Regions from separate parts of the Homo sapiens genome. Here all the other regions are linked to region 3. The links are contacts of gene promoters, found by promoter capture Hi-C in blood cells and fetal thymus (Javierre and others, 2016). All regions are on one chromosome and are shown on one strand. Each heading gives the region's core, a stretch centred on a gene start or on the middle of the fragment in contact. The rest is flanking DNA. Distances are from core to core; before and after follow the strand shown.

Region 1 (4,714 bases), core at 60-2,559, 840 kb after region 3:
AGACTTCACGCTCCTAGAGAGAACGCACCTGAAGATATTTGGGAATAGAGGTTTAATCTAGACTAATCACAGTCTTGCACTGAAGTGCTAAAAGCATGAAATGCAAGACATGAAGAAATCAAAACATCTAAATTTTCTAAGAAGGAATAATGTCTCAAATGTCATTCACTGAGAAAGTAGGTAATATACATGGGGAGTTTGCCAGAAGCATTGCCACTACACCTACCACCACCACCACCACACACACACATACACACACACACACTAAACATGTGGAAGCATAATTGTTGATGGGCAGTTTCTGCTCAGTGTATATAGATTTACAGCCTGTGAACTCTTGACACTGGCACCGCTGGCTGGCCCTCCCTGGAACAGAAACCCAGCTGTTTTCAGGTCCTTCTGTCTACAACACAGGTACCATTAAGTTATCTGCCATGCTCTTTGGGTGGCGACAACCGTGTCAAAAAAGATTACACCATTCACTTAATTTGGGGACCATAATTTTGCTTGTAATAACTTACATAGTGGAGCCACAGTTTCTTTTGTGATTAGTTACCCCTTGGAGAGCTGAATTACTTAGAAATTTGAATTAATTTTGAAAAGACTGAAGAAGCTGTAACCATTCCTATGAAAGACGGCCCAGGTTATAGCTGAACTTATAGGAACCCAGAGATCAGTGTAAGACCCTCTGGCTGAGAATGAGCCAATTGTATAGAATTGGGAATGAAGGAATTTGACCTTAATTTCTATGGGCTTTTCATTTGCAAGGGAATTTAGTCTGGAGGGTTAAAAAATGAGAAGAGTTTCATATTGTTCAACTTTAGAATATTTTTATGTTGTTGATCTGGTCTTGGCATTCATGAATACATTCATGAATGTATACATGAATATAAAATGAATACATTCATTAATTCTGGACAACATGACTGAGCATAATCAGTAATAGGAAATAGAATGGGGAATACATTTTCTGCTTAGGGTGCTGCATGCAGTTCTGTCTGACTCATGTTGCTAGAGACTTTTGTTGGCAAAAAGCGAAATGCCCATTGGCAGCTCTGGAGGGAATTAGTGTGGAAAGAAGGAGGGTTTAGGAAAGTGAGAACATGACGGCCCTGTGAGCAAGCAACTTCCCTGCTGAGAGGAACAGCCCACCCTGGCTTACTTCCAAGTTGCTTAAGTCCAGTGGGTTATGACATTGTTTCCCAGCCTTCCTTCATATGTGGCCTTCGTGTCTGCATATCGCTCACACTAATACTGATATAATATTTTTCCTTAAATATTGTGTATACTTTTAAAATCTTTCGCTCAATTTTTTACTCATGATAAACAATGTTACATATTTTTCTGATTACAACATATATATTACTAAAACTTTTTAAAAAAATGCCTGTCATCATGCTACCTAAAATCAACTTACATAATGCCAGTGGAACACACACTGTAATATACCAAGAGATGAAAAAGCTGGCAAATAGCAGGAGGGATGCTTGTTACTCCACTCTTAGGGTTTCTGTTCCAATCCTGATGACAGAAAACAGCACTGGAGTAACGTTCTGGGGCCCTCTCTCCACTTTTTCTCTCAGCCCATCCCAAGCAGCAAAGAAGAAATTTTTCCATGGCTTGTAGCAGCTCGAGTACAGTGCTTTCTAATTTTGCCCTTGGCAATTCAGCATGCAAGGCTTCCTCCTAGGTTGGAGTTGGGCTGGAGAAGGAAGAATGAAGTTGTCTGGCCCTTCCACCTGTGACTACACAGGCTGCTTGGTTCACTTAAGAAGGAGTAGCAAACCCTATTTCTGACTTAAGTGTAAGGCTCATTCTCCAATCCAGCTTTACTATAGAGTGCTGTAATTTGGGTAATAATACATATAATAAATTTCAATCTTCTTCTGTTTCCTGCATCTATGTCTCAAGTTGGTTAAAACTCACAAAGTAGAAGGATCAGGATTACATGTTAAACACAAATTCCAACACACCTTTGGTTACAAAAACAAGTGAAAGAATTAGAGAAGAAATGTTGCTGGAAAGAAAATGAATGCTCCTGTTTTAAAGCAAAATGCCCTGTGTGAACATTTAATGGCAGTATTATGAAAAGTTAATGCAATATTCAAATATTTTGACTACAAGTTCTTACTTCCTCAATTTGGAGTGAGATTCACACGGTATTCTAGTCTTTTTGTAGCTAAGTCTGGAGCAGGAGAACCCTCCTCTGTCCCCTAGACTCTGAGAGGAAACAAGATATAATAAAAGGATTTGGTTCCTATTGGTTTGGGAATTGGGCCAGCACATGGATTCTGGATGTTTGCAGTTGGGCAAATTACTTAACCTTCCTGAATCTTAGTTCTTAAATCTATAAAGTGGGGATATCAATTCTCACAGGGTTGTTGCAAGGATTGAGATAATGCATGTAATGAATGAATTTGAAGACTGATCCCTTCCCTGCCCACAAACTGAGCTAAAGATGTTCTATAAAGGATTCAGACTCCCCAGTGTTTCTTCATGGTTTTGCTTTATGGGTCTCCTCTGGGGCGATGGAGGCATCAGCGGAGTTGTAGAATTTCCATTTTGGATGCAGTCCTTCTCTCCCCACCCTCTTCTCCCTCACAGCCCTAAATTGAGGTTTGGGGGCTGTTCCTTGCTCCAGAGGACTCCTCATTTGGAACTCAGACTTAATTTCCTTTATCTCATGGCTCTCCCCATGTCCCATCATCAGTTTCTAAGACCACAGCTTGTGGCCCAAGTCTTCCATTTCCCCACTAACCCCAACCTCCATTCATTTAGGAGTCAGCTGAACAGATGTAAAGCACTTCAGTGGTGCCTGGCATACAGTAGATGATCAATACCCATGAATTTCCTTTCCTAGACTTGGAGGCTGTAAGCTTTACAGCCTGTTTTTAAAGAGCTGTACTGACTCTTATGAGTGTGAACACAGTGATCCAATAACTGCATGTTAGATATGAAATATTTTGCACATCACAGACCCAATCTTTAAAACCACTAGCATCTGTACTTGGTCAGTGAGACTGCCATTTCAGAAAGAAATTCATATCCATGTCTAGGCATCCACTAGATATGTCCATATCTAGAAAGTTTTTTAAAGTGTTTGGACTCTTTCCCTTGCAAGGAAATGGACTATGGGTGGTCCAGCTTATATTTGGGATGCCTTTTTCCACACAGATAAAATTCCAAGAAAATAAGATTTTGATCTCATGTAAGTTCCTTTGTGCAAACAAGCTTGCATAGCAAAATGGTGCAGATAAATGTAGATGAAATGGGCTTTGTACAAGTAAATGTAACTATATTATGTTTCTCTGGTATAAAAATAGATCACATGGTGGAGGACAAAAATAGGTGACATGGTAACATAAACCAACTTGTGTAATCAGAGGGTCAACTCTGACATTTTTCACTCTAGGCCTTTTCTAATAGTCTTGTTGCTAGGGCTACAATGTTTTTGCCAGATTGGAACAGAATTGTCAACTCTAATGAAGATTAAGTAGCTTGCCCAACTACGTTTGTTTTTTTTTTTTTTTTTAGCCTCAGTGAATACTGCTGGCTTTAAAAGTCATAATTATGAAGAATGGAAATATCTCTAAAAGATCTATTTTTAAAAATATATAACTAATAAAATTTAAAATTGAGTAGACAGTTTCCATTTCACAGCTATTCCAATATAAACTTTTATCAGTCACATTGAACAAAATAACTAGAAATATTTCATACATTTAAAAAAAGAATAAGAAATTATTTACAAGTTAAGCCGCAAACAATTCACCAAAAACTGAGTAATTAAGGTTACTTAACAAACAATTCTTCTGATTAGTTGGAAAATTGTTTCATTACTGTTCACAAATTCATACCTGATTTACTCTGTAGACAATATAGATTAGGCATAGGATAAAATCCTCTGTATTTGGTTCCTCCCAATCATTGGTCAAAGTCATCTGACAACAGACTATCTGAGGAAAGTGTAAATACAAAGTCACCCAATAAAACATGAATAAGTTTTGCAAAGCACAGTAAAGGAAAACCAGTTTGTTCTGAACACTTTATTGCTAAAAGGATGTAAAGGGTAAGAGGAAAAAGGTGACGAAACACTCCTTTTGATATGCTTGTTGGGGAGTCAGGATGAACTTCCTTGGCTAGGGATAGAAGGAAGAGATCACCTAAACTTCAAAAACCACAATACAATTTGCATACTTCCTTGGCCAGGGATAGGAGAGACCACTAAACTTCAAAAACCACGACACAATTTGCATGCCCATTGACCCCCAGTTTTACTTGTGCACAAAAGCATGAGAATTAAATAAAAATTCATGTGAAGTGACTAGTAAATAATAAATGCTAAGTGTTTATTCCCCTAATGTATTTATATATTTGTTGCCAGGAATTCCAATGCTGAGTAACCTTGCTTTTCCAATAAGCTTACAGCCTTTAGAACCAAAAGAAAGTCATCTTAATTTGAATATTACAGCATTAGTGACATCTGGTGGAAAATATAAGAGTTACAAAGTAGCATTACATAGCTATTCTGATCTTTCATGTAAATTTTAGATAAATTTTACATACTAAATGAAAACAAGATGAAGAAATGGTCTATGAAGTTATCTACCTTATTGTGCTAATAATCTTTGAATCTATATGCTAAAATATATAGGAAGTCAGTATAATTAGCATTATACTAATAAAAACATTTTTCAGCATGCATGTCTATATA
Region 2 (4,721 bases), core at 79-2,578, 860 kb after region 3:
AAAAAAAAAAAAAATACAAAAAATTAGCCGGGTGTGGTGGCGGGCACCTGTAGTCCCAGCTACTCAGGAGGCTGAGGCAGGAGAATGGCATGAACCCGGGAGCTGGAGCTTGCAGTGAGCTGAGATCGTGCCACTGCATTCCAACCTGGGTGACAGAGCGAGACTCCATCTCAAAAAAAAAAAAAAGTTTATTCAAACGTGCTCCTTCCATAACATGAGTGTCTTTTGAAAAACGGAATGGAAGAATGTTAATTTTTCTGAAGTTCTTGTTAGCACAGTACTGCAAAGAGAAAGAGCCAGTAAATCTGGCACAGCTGACTTGCATTTCCTCAGGGTACCAATCATGGCCTATGACTCCCTTTTTTTTCTAAATTTTTAAAACTGACAAATAATAATTGTACATATTTACAGGGTGCATAGTGATGTTGTGGTCTATACAATGTATAGTGATCAGATCAGGGTAATCAGCCTATCTATCATCTTAAACATTTATAATTTCTTTGTGTTTCAAACATTCAATATCCCCATTCTAGCTATTTTAAACTATTATTAACTTGTAGGATGTAGTCATCCTACAAGTGCTGTAGAACACTAGAACTTACTCTTATCTAGCTGTAATTTTGTTTCCTTTAACAAATCTCTCTGTCCTCTCTTTCCGCCTACCCTTCCCAGCCTCTAGTATTCTCTGTTGTACTTTTTACTTCTGTGGGATCAACTTTTTTAACTTCCACATATGAGTAAGAACGTGACCTTCTGACATGGAGACTGTGTGAGTGTGCAATGTCAGTCCATTTTTTGAAATCCATTTTTTTAGTAAAGCTTATTTTCCTAGGTTAAAACATAAATTAAATAGAAGTTGTAACATTCCTTCCTATACTCCCAAAAGGATTGTTTTTTGCATATATTCCACTTTGGAAGCCACTGATTTTGAGGATGTTTGCAGAAACCTTATTGATTAGGGGATGAGGCACCTGAGTTGGGAATAGTAGTGTTCCGTGCTTGTCCTCTCTTCTAGGTAAATATGGAATAGACCTAGTTAGGATGGCTGACCTGCATGCCTATGTGGAAATTTGAAGTATCATTCTTTTTTTTTTTTTTTTTTTTCTGAGACAGAGTCTTGCTCTTTCACCCAGGCTGGAGCGTGGTGGCACCATCTCAGCTCACTGCAATCATCGCCTCTCAGGTTCAAGTGATCCTTATTCCTCAGCCTCCTGTGTAGCTGGGATTACATGCATGCACCATCACACCCAGCTAATTGTTGTATTTTTTAGTGGAGACAAGGTTTCGATGGTCTTGCACTCCTGGCCTCAAGTGATTCACCCACCTTGACCTCCCAAAGTGCTGGGATTACAAGTGTGAGCCGCCATGCCCGGCGTGAGCTATCATTCTTTATAATGGACTTTGCAGAACAATCCTGTAAGGAAAATACATTCTTATTGGGAAGGAGTGCTCCAGACTCTTGAACCCCATCTATTTACCACTGCCCAAAGCACAGAATAAAAGCCATCTTAGGGGTTTCAACAAATCCTGTCATAAAAGTCCACTTAGATCACATAAAAAAAAAAAACTTTATTACTGGTTGCATAATGAGGGAGTGTCATGGTCTTGTCTAAAAGAAGCAGGAATCTCCAAGCAATCTACCAACAGCAGAGATCACATGCAGATATGTCAAAAAAAGATGTTAGCCTAGCATGTTCCAGAGAAACTTCTTAGAAGCAGACTATCTGGACAATTTAAGAAGAATTATATAGGAGTTATTTTCCTTATCGGTAAAATGGATGTAACAATAGTACTTGTCACATATAATTTTTCTGAGTATTACATGAGATAATTTAAATGAAGCTTTGGCTTAATGCTAATATGTTATTGTTATTGTTTTATTATTATATTGTTACTGTTGTTGTTAATAAGACAGCTTTTCACCACTTTTCCACGCACCTTTCCTGGGTTGGTACATGTTTAGTTTAGCATAACTAAAGGAGGCTTTAGATAATACAACTTAAGGCACAGATGAGATAGAAACTCTTATAACATATATAATAATGATAGCCAACATTATTAACCACATACTATCTGCCAGGCACATTTCTATGTGCTTTACAAGAATCATTTTATTTAATCCCTCATTAGCTCAAGAGTTAGATACTACTATTACCTGAATTAAGTTACAGAAGGAAGTTGAATAATTTAGCTAAGGTCACCCAGCTAGGAGAACTGGAGTCAAATCCAAGCAATCTAGATGGTACCAGAATATGAATCCTGAAAGCATCAAAGATCTGACTATATTTTAGATAACTCTAATTTGAGGCAAACTATAGTGGGTCCTTAATATTCCTCCATCCTTGCTATGTAACTCCTGAGACCCATTCAGCAATGGAAACCAATGGAGCTGAATGGCTGGAAAGTCACAGAATTGGAACAAGGAAAATAATCCAAAAGTGGAAGAAAAGAGTCCAAAACTGGAGGAAAAGAAACAAGAGGTAGGATCCAGGGTGCAATACTGGCTCATCTGGCTAAGAGTGGATGGCCAAAAGGGGTACCCTGACTAGGGCTGCAAAAACAGGAATTTTTTAAAAATTTTGTGCTTAAAAGATCTTGTCAATTTTCTACTTAAAAGATCTTCAGTGAACTAAGAGGAGGCATTAAACAAATATTCTGGCCAAGGGATAGAATGGCATTTGAAATAGCCTACTCTTTGTCCTGCCAATTTTATTGATAGCTCAGACAAAAGGAAATGAGAATATGCAATACAGCAGGAATGTAAAAAGATGACAAATTTGAGAGACATTTTAAAAATGTGTTGAGATGTGTTTGGTTGTACTCTGAAGAACAGCCTGGGTTTTGGGGGATCATGGTGTGGAGCTGTTATACATGGAGATGATATAGATAAGTTTGTGGCATTCGATTCATTTTCCTTCAAGTGGTTTTAGGCCAGGCAAAAAAAAAAAATTTTTTTTGAGGTAATAGCTAATAAAATGACACATTGAGGAAGAAGAGGCAGTGAAGGAAACTCAGAAGAAATGGAAAAGTAGGAGGCAAATTGTGAGAGGAATGTCAGAACCTATTTAGTGAATTTGGATTAGGTAGAAAAATACTATTTTAGTAGTTTAGTAAATAATTCAGCACAAATAAGAATGACTGAGGAAGAGTCACAGATTTTGTACTTGAAAGATTTTTGGTGAACTAAGAGGAGACAATTTGGGTCACACGGTAGGGTATAAAAGTCTTTTACAAGGAGTTTGGAAGTAAGGCTAAGAAGATAGAAGTAAAAGGTTTGCAAGAGAAATGGAGAGTGGAGAAACCACATAAGCAATTGCTGGATCTTGGGAATTTTATGTTTAGGATATTTAGAGGAAAGAGAGCAAAAGAAATATAAATACTGAAGTTGAAAGTTGGAAAGGCCTAACTAATAGAGCCAGACACCTGAGGCCACAGAAAGCAATGGCATCAAGGACCCAAGTAGAGAATAAACAGAAGAGACAATTCCCTCTTAGAAATTGAAAACAAGGAAGAAGGGAGATGTGAGGATGCAGATAAATTCTCATTTTTTCTTGAAATGCAAGTAAAGAATAATCTTTAGCTTCTCAGTGGAGGAGGAGGTGAGATAGGGAAGTGGAGGAAGGGAAAGATAATGTCACATAAGTGAAAAGAGTTGGAAATTTTTTTTTTTTTTTTTTTTTGAGACAGGGTCTTGCTCTGTCGCCTAGGCTAGAGTGTAGTGGCGCGATCTCGGCTCTCTGCAAGCTCCGTCTCCCGAGTTCATGCCATTCTCCTGCCTCAGCCTCCCGAGTAGCTGGGACTAGAGGAGCCCGCCACCACGCCAGGCTAATTTTTTGTGTTTTTTAGTAGAGACGGGGTTTCACTGTGTTAGCCAGGATGGTCTCGATCTCCTGACCTCATGATCCGCCCGCCTTGGCCTCCCAAAGTGCTGGGATTACAGGGGTGAGCCACTGCGCCACGCCAAGAGTTGGAAAGATTTTTAAAGCAGCCATTATGAGGAGTGGGATGATAAGTCAATGAAGGAGAAATAAATGGATATTTGTTTTCCTAAATAGATATTTATTGAGTACTATTTATCTTACAGTGCGGTGCTGTATGGATGCAAGAGGAAAAATCTAGCTGGGAATCTAGTTGGGGAATTATTACACAAAAATAGCTGCACATAAGAAGGTACAGGATGAGAAACAATTGAATGTATGCAGTAATTGCCAAACAAATTCAAAGATAGCAAAAGAAATATTCTTGGAGGATGTAAAACTTGAAGAGTTATAAACATTTTCCACAGTGTTAGGTATAGTATATGTTATAAACATTTTGAAGAGTACTTAGAACTTGAAGAGTGCTTAGAACTTAGGCAGGCAAAGATGGGTGTCAATTAGAGGTTTAACGGAGATGATTAAAGTCCAGTCTGGACCATAAAGTAAAGGTGGGGATAAAAACCTTTATAGGTATAGATGTGTAGAGAGAGGACGTCACAGGCACAGAACTTAAAAATCTATGGGACAAAATATGGAAGCATCAAATTAGCTCACTTTTCCCCAGGACAGAGTCTTCATGTGATCAGATTACATCTGGGTTCTTTTTCTAGAGAGCCTTGTGTGACAGGCTAAAAGTTTGGACTTTTCTCAGGAGACGTTAGAGAGACACTAAAAGTTTTTATAGAATTATATTGGGGACAATATAAAGTTGTGTTTTAGTAACGTTACTGTAGCACAGGTGAA
Region 3 (5,075 bases), core at 2,576-5,075:
GAACAGCATGAGATGTTGTTGCGGAAGCAGGAACAGATCATTCAGGGGTCTATAGGCCTTGGCAAGAATTTTGGATTTTATTCTATGTGAATGAAAAGTCATTGAACAATTTAAGTTGGGGAGTAACATGTCAATATTTTTAAAAGACTAATTGGCTGCTGTGTGGGAAATAGATTTAAAACCATGAGGATAAATGACATCTCAGGATCAGGCACTAAGGCACATCAACATTTAAAGCAGATTGAAAAGTACAAGAGAAAAGGAGGCTGAGAAAGAGAAGCCCATGAGGCAGGATGAAAGCCATAAAGGAATGATGTCACAAGAATTGAGATGAAGATGTCAAGGAGGGAGTGGTCAATTGTGACTAGATTTTTCTGGTTGACTCATCCCTGAGTCACAGCCTAGAGATTTCTCTTCTTGCCTAGCTATAGTTTCCCCTACAGTTCTTCTGTACCTTATTCCAAATGAATCATTCTGCCCCAGAACTTACAAAGGCTTCCCATTGTAGTCCTGTACTGGCCTTGTTCAATCCTGTTTCTAAAACTTTGCTCTTTTAAGTTACATATCTTCCTCAATGCCTTCAAATACACTTGCTTATAATCCTTCCAAGCTGAAGTTCATATTTGATCTCCCACAGAAGCCCTCTCCAACTTTAGCCCACACAGATGACTCTATTCAAAAAAATCAACAAAACTTCCAATTTTTACTCCATCCAATAAACACTGCTTGTTAAGCATCTGTGCTAGGCACTGTGCTATGCCTTGGAAACATGAAAAAACAGAGAGCTTAGGTAGTAAGGAAATTCACTTGTCAGTCCTTATGGATGCATTTAGGAAAAAAAGGATTCTGTCTAGTATCTAACCCTGAGTCAGTCATTGATCTACTACTTCCCTATGCTATATTTCACTCTACCCCACCCAGCTCAGTCATGGTTAAGCTGTTGATTACCTCCTGGAACTACTGGGTTACAGCTCCGCAGGACACAATGTTGCTATTCCTACCAGACATTAGTGGCAGGGTGCATCTAGCCACAGGGTAGCACATTTCTCAAAGTCTGAGTTATAATCAATCCAGAATAACACTAAGAGGTGTGTATATGTGCTGGTGGTGTGAACTTTGGCTAAGCCTCAGCTGAATGATCTAGGGTATTCTTTGGCATGCCAAGCCTGCTCCCTTTCATGATCTCTTTGCCTGTGTGAGGTGCAGAGATTGGTCTTCACAAATTTGGGTCCAGCCAATCAGAAACTAGGGAATCAAACCCACACACGTCCCTCAAGGACAAATAGTAAGAATTAAAATATTTTAAATCCTTGTTGTGACTTTCCCAATTACAAATTTTCTGGGAGCAACAGCTGTCCTGCAATGTCAATTTTCCATTTTTTCATGTTTGCTTCAGACTCTGCCCTCTTGATGCTTAAATTGGGTCCTATTACAACTCTACCATTTAAGGATCGGTACATAGATATGCTAAAAACTGGTAGAAAGTATGAAATTATATAATTTTAAAAGTGTATAGTCAGGGTTTAGTCAAATTCTTGAGCAGGGTGAACTGAAGGGTATTCTTCTGTAATTGCTAAATAAGGAAGGGAGGTAGTATAAGCCATTATTATCCACAGTTCAAATTATTTCTCAAGGGTGGAGGTGGGGGTTACTCTGTCAGGTACATTTGCAGAGAAATAAATATAGTACAACATAATTGTTATAAAAATAAGTCCCAAAAGGGATGACAATTTTGTCTCAGAAAGTTATGAAAAGATCCATGGAGATAAGCATTCGAGAGAGAACCAAAGGATCTTGAGAGAACCAAGAACATAGAAAGCAAGGACTTTAGAAAGATTAATGTGGAGGAACTGGAGGAAGAATGGCGATGAGTTTAACAGTGTGATCATGAAAGGCCCTGCCGGTGGGTAATGAAAAATTCTTAGCAGAGAAGTATAATGATCGTATTTTCACGTTAGAAAAATTATTAATAGAATGGAGGTTGGACTGGTGTGGGAAATAACTAGAGGATATCTTGTGAATATTGCAATAGTACAAGGAAGATGAGTCATAAGAGATGGTGATTACTTGAAGGACTAAGACAGTGAGAGTGGAGGGGTGGACCTGAGAGATACTTAAGGAAATAAGAGTCAAAATTTGATATTAGAAAAGAGGAAATGAAGGAAAAGTAACAGGGGTACTCATAGATTTCTGACTTGGGCAGTTGCGTGTCATTTTCTGAAACAGGGAATGGAAATGGTGTAGGTTCCAGATGGGTGAAGAGGGACATGGCATCAGGAACAGATTATAGTAAAGATGTCCATGTCAATTTGGGACATATTTAAGATACTGTGTGAAATCCAAAGGATGTTGCTTAAAAATGTCCGACGTATAGATATACACCTGAGAGTTCTTGGTGCACAGGACACGTGGTAGGTAAATCCATGATGGGAAAGAGACTGCTCAAGGAGACATGGATTAACATTAAACAGAAACAGCAAAAGAAAATGGAGTGCTGGCGAACAGAGACCACGCAGCGGAAAAACAGTATTTAAAGTGCACCAGAAAAGTAGCTGCAGAATGAGGAGAAAATGACATTAGAGAAACGGAGGGAAGAGTTAATGGTGTGCTCTTATTGTTTTAAAAATGCAGAGTAGGATCTTTTTTTCCCCCACCCCTCCCAAAGTTTTTAATATTTTGAGGGCAGAAACCACGGCTTTATTTCATCCTATTTCTGACAGTGCCTAGTTCAGTAAAGGGAACATAGTAAATGCTCAATAAATTCTTAATGATTCAGCCTCAGACATTACAAACGGGTCCTATTTGTCTCCTGTATCAACGACCAATATTTCTTCCCCCTCTTTCTTCAAATAAACTTTTAGAAGTGCCTCTGGGTTTACTGAAATCCATTTTTACAATTAGTATGTTCAACTTACACCAGCTTTGGAATGAGTTCCAAAACCTTCTTTATTTACTTGAGAGATATTCGGTATCAGTGACGATGGGTTTTTCCTTTACTACTATTCCTAAGAAAGGTTTATTCAAAATCAAAGTTTAGCCCAATTCCCAGCAGTACCTTTTAACTTAAAACCTGTTCGAAAGCACGGCAAAGAGGCGGACAGACTTTTCTGACAATCATTAACCAGGTCAACAGACTTATTAAAGCTATCTAATTAAAGGCAAGAAACAACTGCTTGGGGAATACACATTCACGCCACAGGAAGCCATTTAACTGCAAATAGATCGTCTAACGACTCACGGAAATCTAAAGGAAACTGCGTGTCCGCATGGGGTTCTGATGCCAAACTACGGATTGTTCTCTCAGGTAACACCTAACCTAAGTGAAGTCCTTGGTGGATCCGCGTTCTTGAGCTTAGAAAATACCGAATGAACTACCAAGAGCACCAGAATAATCGCCTCCTCCTGAAGAACTAGCCTCTTTCTCACCACACCAGACAGCACGTCCTACAACCACCTTTCCCCCAACAACCAAACTCCAGCGCCAAGCTGCCGCTTTTGCAGAAATGTTCTATCTCTTGGTCTCGCGCGATCTCGCGCCTCCGAGGAAGCCAACTGTATCGCGCACGCCATCAAATCCCCGCGGGAATAGAATTCCGCAGGTCCAGAAAGCCGGGAAATCGCGAGCGGAGGCGGAGTTACCTCGGTGAGCGTGAAGGCGGAGCCCGCTCCGAGGGGCGGGCTCGAGGCGGGGAGAGGGGCGGGGCTCCAGGGACCTGTTGATCGCAGGTGTCACTGGCCTGACTGGTCCCTGGGTATTGGGGCGTATGCGCATGCTCCGCTCACAGGGTCGGGCTCTGGGCGGCGGAGACCAGCCGCCTGTGCTCCAGTTCCCGGTGAGCCTCGGTACTGTGGCAGCAGTCAGTGTGTCTGGCGGGTGTCGGCGTGAAGCGGGGCTGGGCCAGCGGGAGGTAGCTCTGTGGGAGTGGAAGGCCTGTATTTCTCTACCTGGACCGCACGCTCCTCGCGCAAGGAGGGTAGAGCTCAAGGTAAGTCTCCGAAACTAGCCCTCTGGTTGGAGATCCAGAGACCTGCGACCCCCGCGGGCCTGACCGGGACACTCTCATTCTAGCCCCAGAGCTCGTCTCTCCCCTCGCAGCCCGGCGACCTCCTATGGCCCCGGCCCTCTGGGCACACACACACTCTCTTTGCTGGGCGGTTCAGACGCCAGAGGTCACGCAGCCCTTTCGCCCCTTCTCGCCGCGTCTGGCGGAGATGCCTCTGGCCAGGCTGGAGGCGCTCGCGAGGCGGGAGGAGGTGCTGTACTTGTTGGGTCCTGGATGTTATTGCTGCCGTGTTTGAGGGCGGCGACAAGCTGGAGTCCTGCTGGGATTGTGAGTAATACCCTTACTTGGCTCCTGCCCCTGGCTGTCCAAGCCACATTGCCTCGCCTGAGCACACAGTTTTTTACTTAAAGGGGTCCAGGATGGTTATGCTCCCTCCTTGGAGAAGAGAGATGACTGGACTCGTGAGATTCTTGGGGTGGTGGTTTCTCAGTGGTAGTGGTGATGTATATAAAGTTAATGTTTAGCTTCTAAAGGGCGGCTTACGGGGCATTTACCAAACTATTTTTAAACAGTGTTGGAGAACAGGAAGTACTTGCACAGGTGTAATAGGGAGGGTTTCTAAAACCTGCAATCTGAGGATGTTTTGAGGTTTGTAACCCTGCTACAAGGTTTTCTTTATCAATGCAAAGTATGCAGGGAATTACCAGTTGGACAGCAAAGTTTTCCGAAAGTTTCCTTATCTGGAAATAGATATATATATATATATATATGTGTGTGTGTGTATGTATGTATGTATAAATATATATATTTGCAAAGAATATCTAAGGCTATTTTTGAGGTAGGTTTAATAGTAAACTTAACCTGTAGTCCCAGCTACTCGGGAGGCTGAGGCAGGAGAATTGCTTGAACCGGAGGTTGCAGTGAGCCGAGATCGCGCCACTGCATTCCAGCAGGGGCGACAGAGCCAGACTCCGTCTCCAAAAAACAAACAAACAAACAAAAAAACGCAGTACACTTAGGAAGGTTTTTGTGATTAAGATCTGATTCACTTTTAGTTATTAAAAGAAAAGG
Region 4 (4,625 bases), core at 1,736-4,235, 520 kb before region 3:
ATGTTTGTGACTTTTTTTTTTATTAATTAAAATGTTAGTGATTATTTTAGGTGGAACTATATGCAGTTGCTGATATTCTAACCTTTTTGACCTTTAAGCATAGCAGTTTCATATTGCAACATTGGTGGTCGTATCTTTCATGACTCAAACTAGACTCTAACACTTATAGTATTGTATATGAGATAAATAGTTTTAGACAAATCAATCAGCAAAATAGTAGTTACAGTAATTATTTATGATAGGAAATTTTTTTATGAAAATAATCAGCTAGCTAGATCTAATAATGGGAAAGCAAAGACTTCAATGTTTGATTTTAATGCTAATTTAAAACATTTATTAAATCTTAAGGAAATAAAATATGTTGAGTTTTAATCAGGATGTGATAGAGAAATAACCCCTATTTGTAAAATATTTACTTAATCTTATGTTTTTCAAGGATGAACTAGAAATGCAACAGGATGAAGAAAATTTGCCATATGAAGAAGAGATTTACAAAGATTCTAGTACTTTTCTTAAGGTAAAATAAATAATTTTCAAATTTTGTAACTCTTCATATTTAAGTTCTATACCTGAAAAGATTTTAAATACCTGTTTGTCTTCAAGATGTTTTTTAATTATTGAGGGATCATTGTTATAAAATAAAGATTATTTAAAATTACTCATGAAATAGTCTTCTGATATTTGGCTATTTAGTGTGAGGTAACAGTATATTAATATCAGTAGCTACTGAAAAGTAATAATTTTAGTTGTATTTTCAAATATTACTAATTTTTAAATCTATCAATTGATTGCATTTTATATCACCTTGTAATAGAAAACAGTACAGAGATAATTTATCTGCCATTACAATGCATGTTACAAATTTAATTTTGTTTTTTAATTTAGGGAACACAGAGCTTAAATCCCCATAATGATTACTGCCAACATTTTGTAGACACTGGACATAGACCTCAGAATTTCATCAGGGATGTAGGTATGTCAGGTTTGTTTGGACTACGCTATTGCTGACTCTCAATTACATGCATGTAATTTATCCAATTTGTGGATATTTCTAACAAAATTATTTCTCCAGCTTGACATCTTTTTTTCGTTCTCAGTGCTTCTGGTATACCTTCTTTTTCTTTTCTTTTCTTTTTTTTTTTTTTTTGAGACAGAGCCTTGCTGTGTTGCTCAGGCTGGAGTGCAGTGGGGTGATCTCTCTTGGCTCACTACAACCTCTGCCTCCCAGATTCGAGCGATTCTCCTGCCTCAGCCTCCCAAGTAGCTGGGATTACAGGCACCCCCCACCGTGCCTAGATAATTTTTGTGTTTTTAGTAGAGACGAGGTTTCACCATGTTGGCCAGGCTGGTCTGGAACTCCCGAGGTTTCACCATGTTGGCCAGGCTGGTCTGGAACTCCTGACCTCAGGTGATCTGCCTGCCTCAGCCTCCCAAAGTGCTGAGATTACAGGCGTGAGCCACCGCTCCAGGCCCTGTATACCTTCTTTTTCTATAATCGATATTACTATTTTTTTGTTTGTTTCTTTTTGGCTCCAGTTTGGTATTATGCCTATTCTTGCATTTTAGACAGATTTATTGAGATAATACTTACATACTGTACAATTCACTCAAAAGAGTTTTTTTTTAATGTATCCACAGAATTGTGCAACTATTTTCACAATCTATACTAGAACATTTGCATCTCCCCTAAGGAAGCCCTGTACCCATTAGCAGTCAGTCCCCATTTCCTCTCTCTCATCTACCCCTTCTCAGCCTTAAGTATCTGCTGATCTACTTTCTATTTCTATACGTTTGCCTATTTTGGACATTTCTTGTAAATGAAATTATACAATGTGTGGTGGTTTGTCACTGGCTTCTTTCACTTAGCATATTTTTAAGGGTCATCGATGTTGAAGCATGTGCCTGTACTTCATGTTTTTAAATTGCCAAGTAATATGCTATTGTATATGTTTACCTTTCTGACAACTACTCTCTTGTGTTTCCAAGCAGCTGCACGATTTTACATTTTTACTAACAACGTATGATGGTTCCAATTTCTTCACATCTTTGGCACTTACTATTATCTGTTTTTTATTGTAGCCATCCTAGAAAGTGTGAAGTAGTATTTTACTGTGGTTTTGATTTGCATTTGCCTAGTGACTAATGATATTGAGCATCTTTTTTTATGCTTATTGGCCATTTAAATATCTTTTTTAGAGAAATATCCTAATACTTTGTGTATTTTTAAATTATTTCACTGTCTTTTTACTATTGAATAACAAGAGTCTTTTATATATTCTCTTTGTGTGTGGGTGTGGGTGTGTATTTTTTACATATTCTGAGTACAAGTCTCTTAACCTGATGAATAATTTGCGAATATTTTCTCGCATTCTGTGGGTGACTTTCTTGATAGTATATTTTGTAGCACAAACATTCTATTTTTGATATAATCAAATTTAGTTTTTCCTTTGTTACTTGTAAGCAACATTTCTCTTGAAGTAGAGAAACTAATTTTAATGTTTTTATAAGCAAAATGTAGATGTAGCATAAAAATTTATGGTTAAATTGTATAACCAGATTTAGATATAAACTGCTCTGCTCTTAGGATACCTGCCTCCCCAAGGCAAAGAAAACATACTTAGAAAACTATTACAGATTGAGGAAAAGTTGTACCTTCTGTTTTATAGGTGATTAGAAGCTGACTCTGCTGTCTTGAAATTTGACTATAATAAAATCTTCAAATTCATTAATTGAAATGTGATCTGCAACCACTGACTGAGGAAGCTTTACAAAATCATTTTCTTTTTTTCTTTGATATTAAAGTTACTAATATTTGTACTTTTGGTTTTTAAATTAGGAAGTTCATATAATTTATGTTGTTATAAATGTGCTTCCTGTTTGGGAAGAAAAGAAACACTCATTTTCTTTGCTTTGAATAACTATCCAAGAAATTAAGTAAAAATCTTAACAATCAGGTTCTTTAGGATAAGGATTTTTTTTTTTTTTTTAGCTAAGAGGAAGGGGGAAAAGAATCACACAAGAAAGGTAGTTGTTTTTTTTTTTTTTTCCTGAATGTTAAACTGGATGCTAGGGGTAATGGTTTAACTTAATAAATATGTGATATTAAGTGGCTTATTGACTTGGACTGGGTTTTAGAACATCTGGGTTTTTACTTGCATGTCATTAGTTATGAAATCTGCATACATATTATTTAAAATTATTAGAAGTTAAGCTTCCTTAAAAGATATGAGTCAAGTGGCATGTGTATTATTTTGTTTTCTTGGGAGGGCTCATAACTTTTGAATTACTGATATTAACTTCAGTTGAGATGAATTCAGAATTTACTATTTTTTCTGCTCAGGTTTAGCTGACAGATTTGAAGAATATCCTAAACTGAGGGAGCTCATCAGGCTAAAGGATGAGTTAATAGCTAAATCTAACACTCCTCCCATGTAAGTGTTTTTATTCAATTACTGTTTATTCCCAACTCAGGCTTAAAGTATCAGTTTGTTTATCCTATAACCTTTTTTCTTCTTCCTAAATTCAGCACTTATGTTAACATGCTTTATTACTCTGTTTCTTCTCTCTGCCTTTTTGTTTTTTAAAGGCTGGTGCTCATTATGTTGCCCAGGCTTGTGTCCATCTCCTGGGCTCAAGCAATCCTCCCACCTCACCTGGACTACAGGCATTTCAGCCATCACTCCTGGCTCTATTTTTCTTTCTTTCTTTTTTTGTTTTGAGATGGAGTCTTGCTCTGTTGTCCAGGCTAGAGTGTGGAGTGTAGTGGCGCAATCTTGGCTCACTGCAGCCTCCGCCCCCTGGGTTCAAGTGATTCTCATGCCTCAGCCTTCTGAAGAGCTAGGATTACAGGCACGCACCACCATGCCTGGCTAATTTTTGGCACACACCACCATGCCTGGCTAATTTTTGTATTTTTAGTAGAGACGGGGTTTCACCATGTTGCTCAGGCTGGTCTCAAACTCCTGACCTTGGGTGATTTGCCCCCCTCAACCTCAAAATGCTGGGATTACAGGCATGAGCCAGCGTACTGAGCCCTATTTCTTCGTTATAGCAAAAATGTTAATTTGAAGCTCTGGTGCTGAGTTCAGAGGGGGCTCTCAGTTTTTTTTCAGCTTTTCAGATAATTTGCTTAAAGTGCCTCTAAATATTTTTTCTTCTTAAAAGTCATCCAAGTCGGGCATGGTGGCTCACCCCTCTAATCCCAGCACATTGGGAGGCTGAGGCAGGTGGATCACCTGAGGTCAGGAGTTTGAGACCAGCCTGCCCAACATGCTGAAACCCTGTCTCTACTAAAAATACAAAAATTAGCTGGGCATGGTGGTGCACGCCTGTAATCCCAGCTACTCGAGAGGCTGAGGCAGTAGAATCGTTTGAATCTAGGAGGCAGAGGTTGCAGTGAGCCGAGATCGCACCATTGCACTTTAGCCTGGGTGACGGAGTGAGACTCCGTATTCTTGATAGCTTACTTAAAATGCCTTTAAATGACTTCTTGTCAAGTAATTTGTTTGTTAAAGGAAGCTTAGAAAACTTAGAGTCAGGAAAGGAAGAAAACAAATATTAATTACAGCTTAGCATTCTGAGATACTATTCTTAACAATTTGGAATATGATAATTCATTTCAACCG

What was found. The method cuts DNA at HindIII sites, captures the fragments that hold promoters and counts their contacts. A CHiCAGO score of 5 or more calls a contact.
Region 1: a contact is called between a fragment that was not itself captured here and the fragment with the promoter of USP53 in region 3, in 1 of 17 cell types (neutrophils). The highest score is 5.7, in neutrophils.
Region 2: a contact is called between a fragment that was not itself captured here and the fragment with the promoter of USP53 in region 3, in 2 of 17 cell types (total CD8 T cells and activated CD4 T cells). The highest score is 6.5, in total CD8 T cells.
Region 4: a fragment that was not itself captured here is called in contact with the fragment with the promoter of USP53 in region 3 in 1 of 17 cell types (fetal thymus); the score reaches 5.1 in fetal thymus.

What each region holds. Positions count from the first base shown.
Region 1 is chr4:120,051,962-120,056,675 of GRCh38, forward strand. It overlaps MAD2L1 (mitotic arrest deficient 2 like 1), which reads right to left. Exons shown (of 5, transcript NM_002358.4): 5 at 3,662-4,714. Among named protein-coding and RNA genes, the nearest start is that of MAD2L1, 13 kb to the right of the region's middle. The HindIII fragment of the contact is 3,129 bases long and covers 1-2,874 here.
Region 2 is chr4:120,075,642-120,080,362 of GRCh38, forward strand. All of the region lies in intron 1 of MAD2L1-DT (MAD2L1 divergent transcript), which reads left to right. Among named protein-coding and RNA genes, the nearest start is that of MAD2L1-DT, 11 kb to the left of the region's middle. The HindIII fragment of the contact is 1,023 bases long and covers 818-1,840 here.
Region 3 is chr4:119,208,888-119,213,962 of GRCh38, forward strand. It overlaps USP53 (ubiquitin specific peptidase 53), which reads left to right and starts at 3,826. Exons shown (of 19, transcript NM_001371395.1): 1 at 3,826-3,986. LOC101929762 (a long non-coding RNA gene) reads right to left here and starts at 3,757. Exons shown (of 3, transcript NR_125931.1): 1 at 3,640-3,757. RefSeq lists enhancers at 389-1,588, 2,744-3,318, 3,441-3,560, 3,892-4,465, 4,171-4,220 and a silencer at 3,691-3,820. The HindIII fragment of the contact is 14,070 bases long and covers 1-5,075 here.
Region 4 is chr4:118,691,096-118,695,720 of GRCh38, forward strand. METTL14 (methyltransferase 14, N6-adenosine-methyltransferase non-catalytic subunit) reads left to right here. Exons shown (of 11, transcript NM_020961.4): 4 at 437-517; 5 at 886-973; 6 at 3,341-3,431. Among named protein-coding and RNA genes, the nearest start is that of METTL14, 8.0 kb to the left of the region's middle. The HindIII fragment of the contact is 448 bases long and covers 2,762-3,209 here.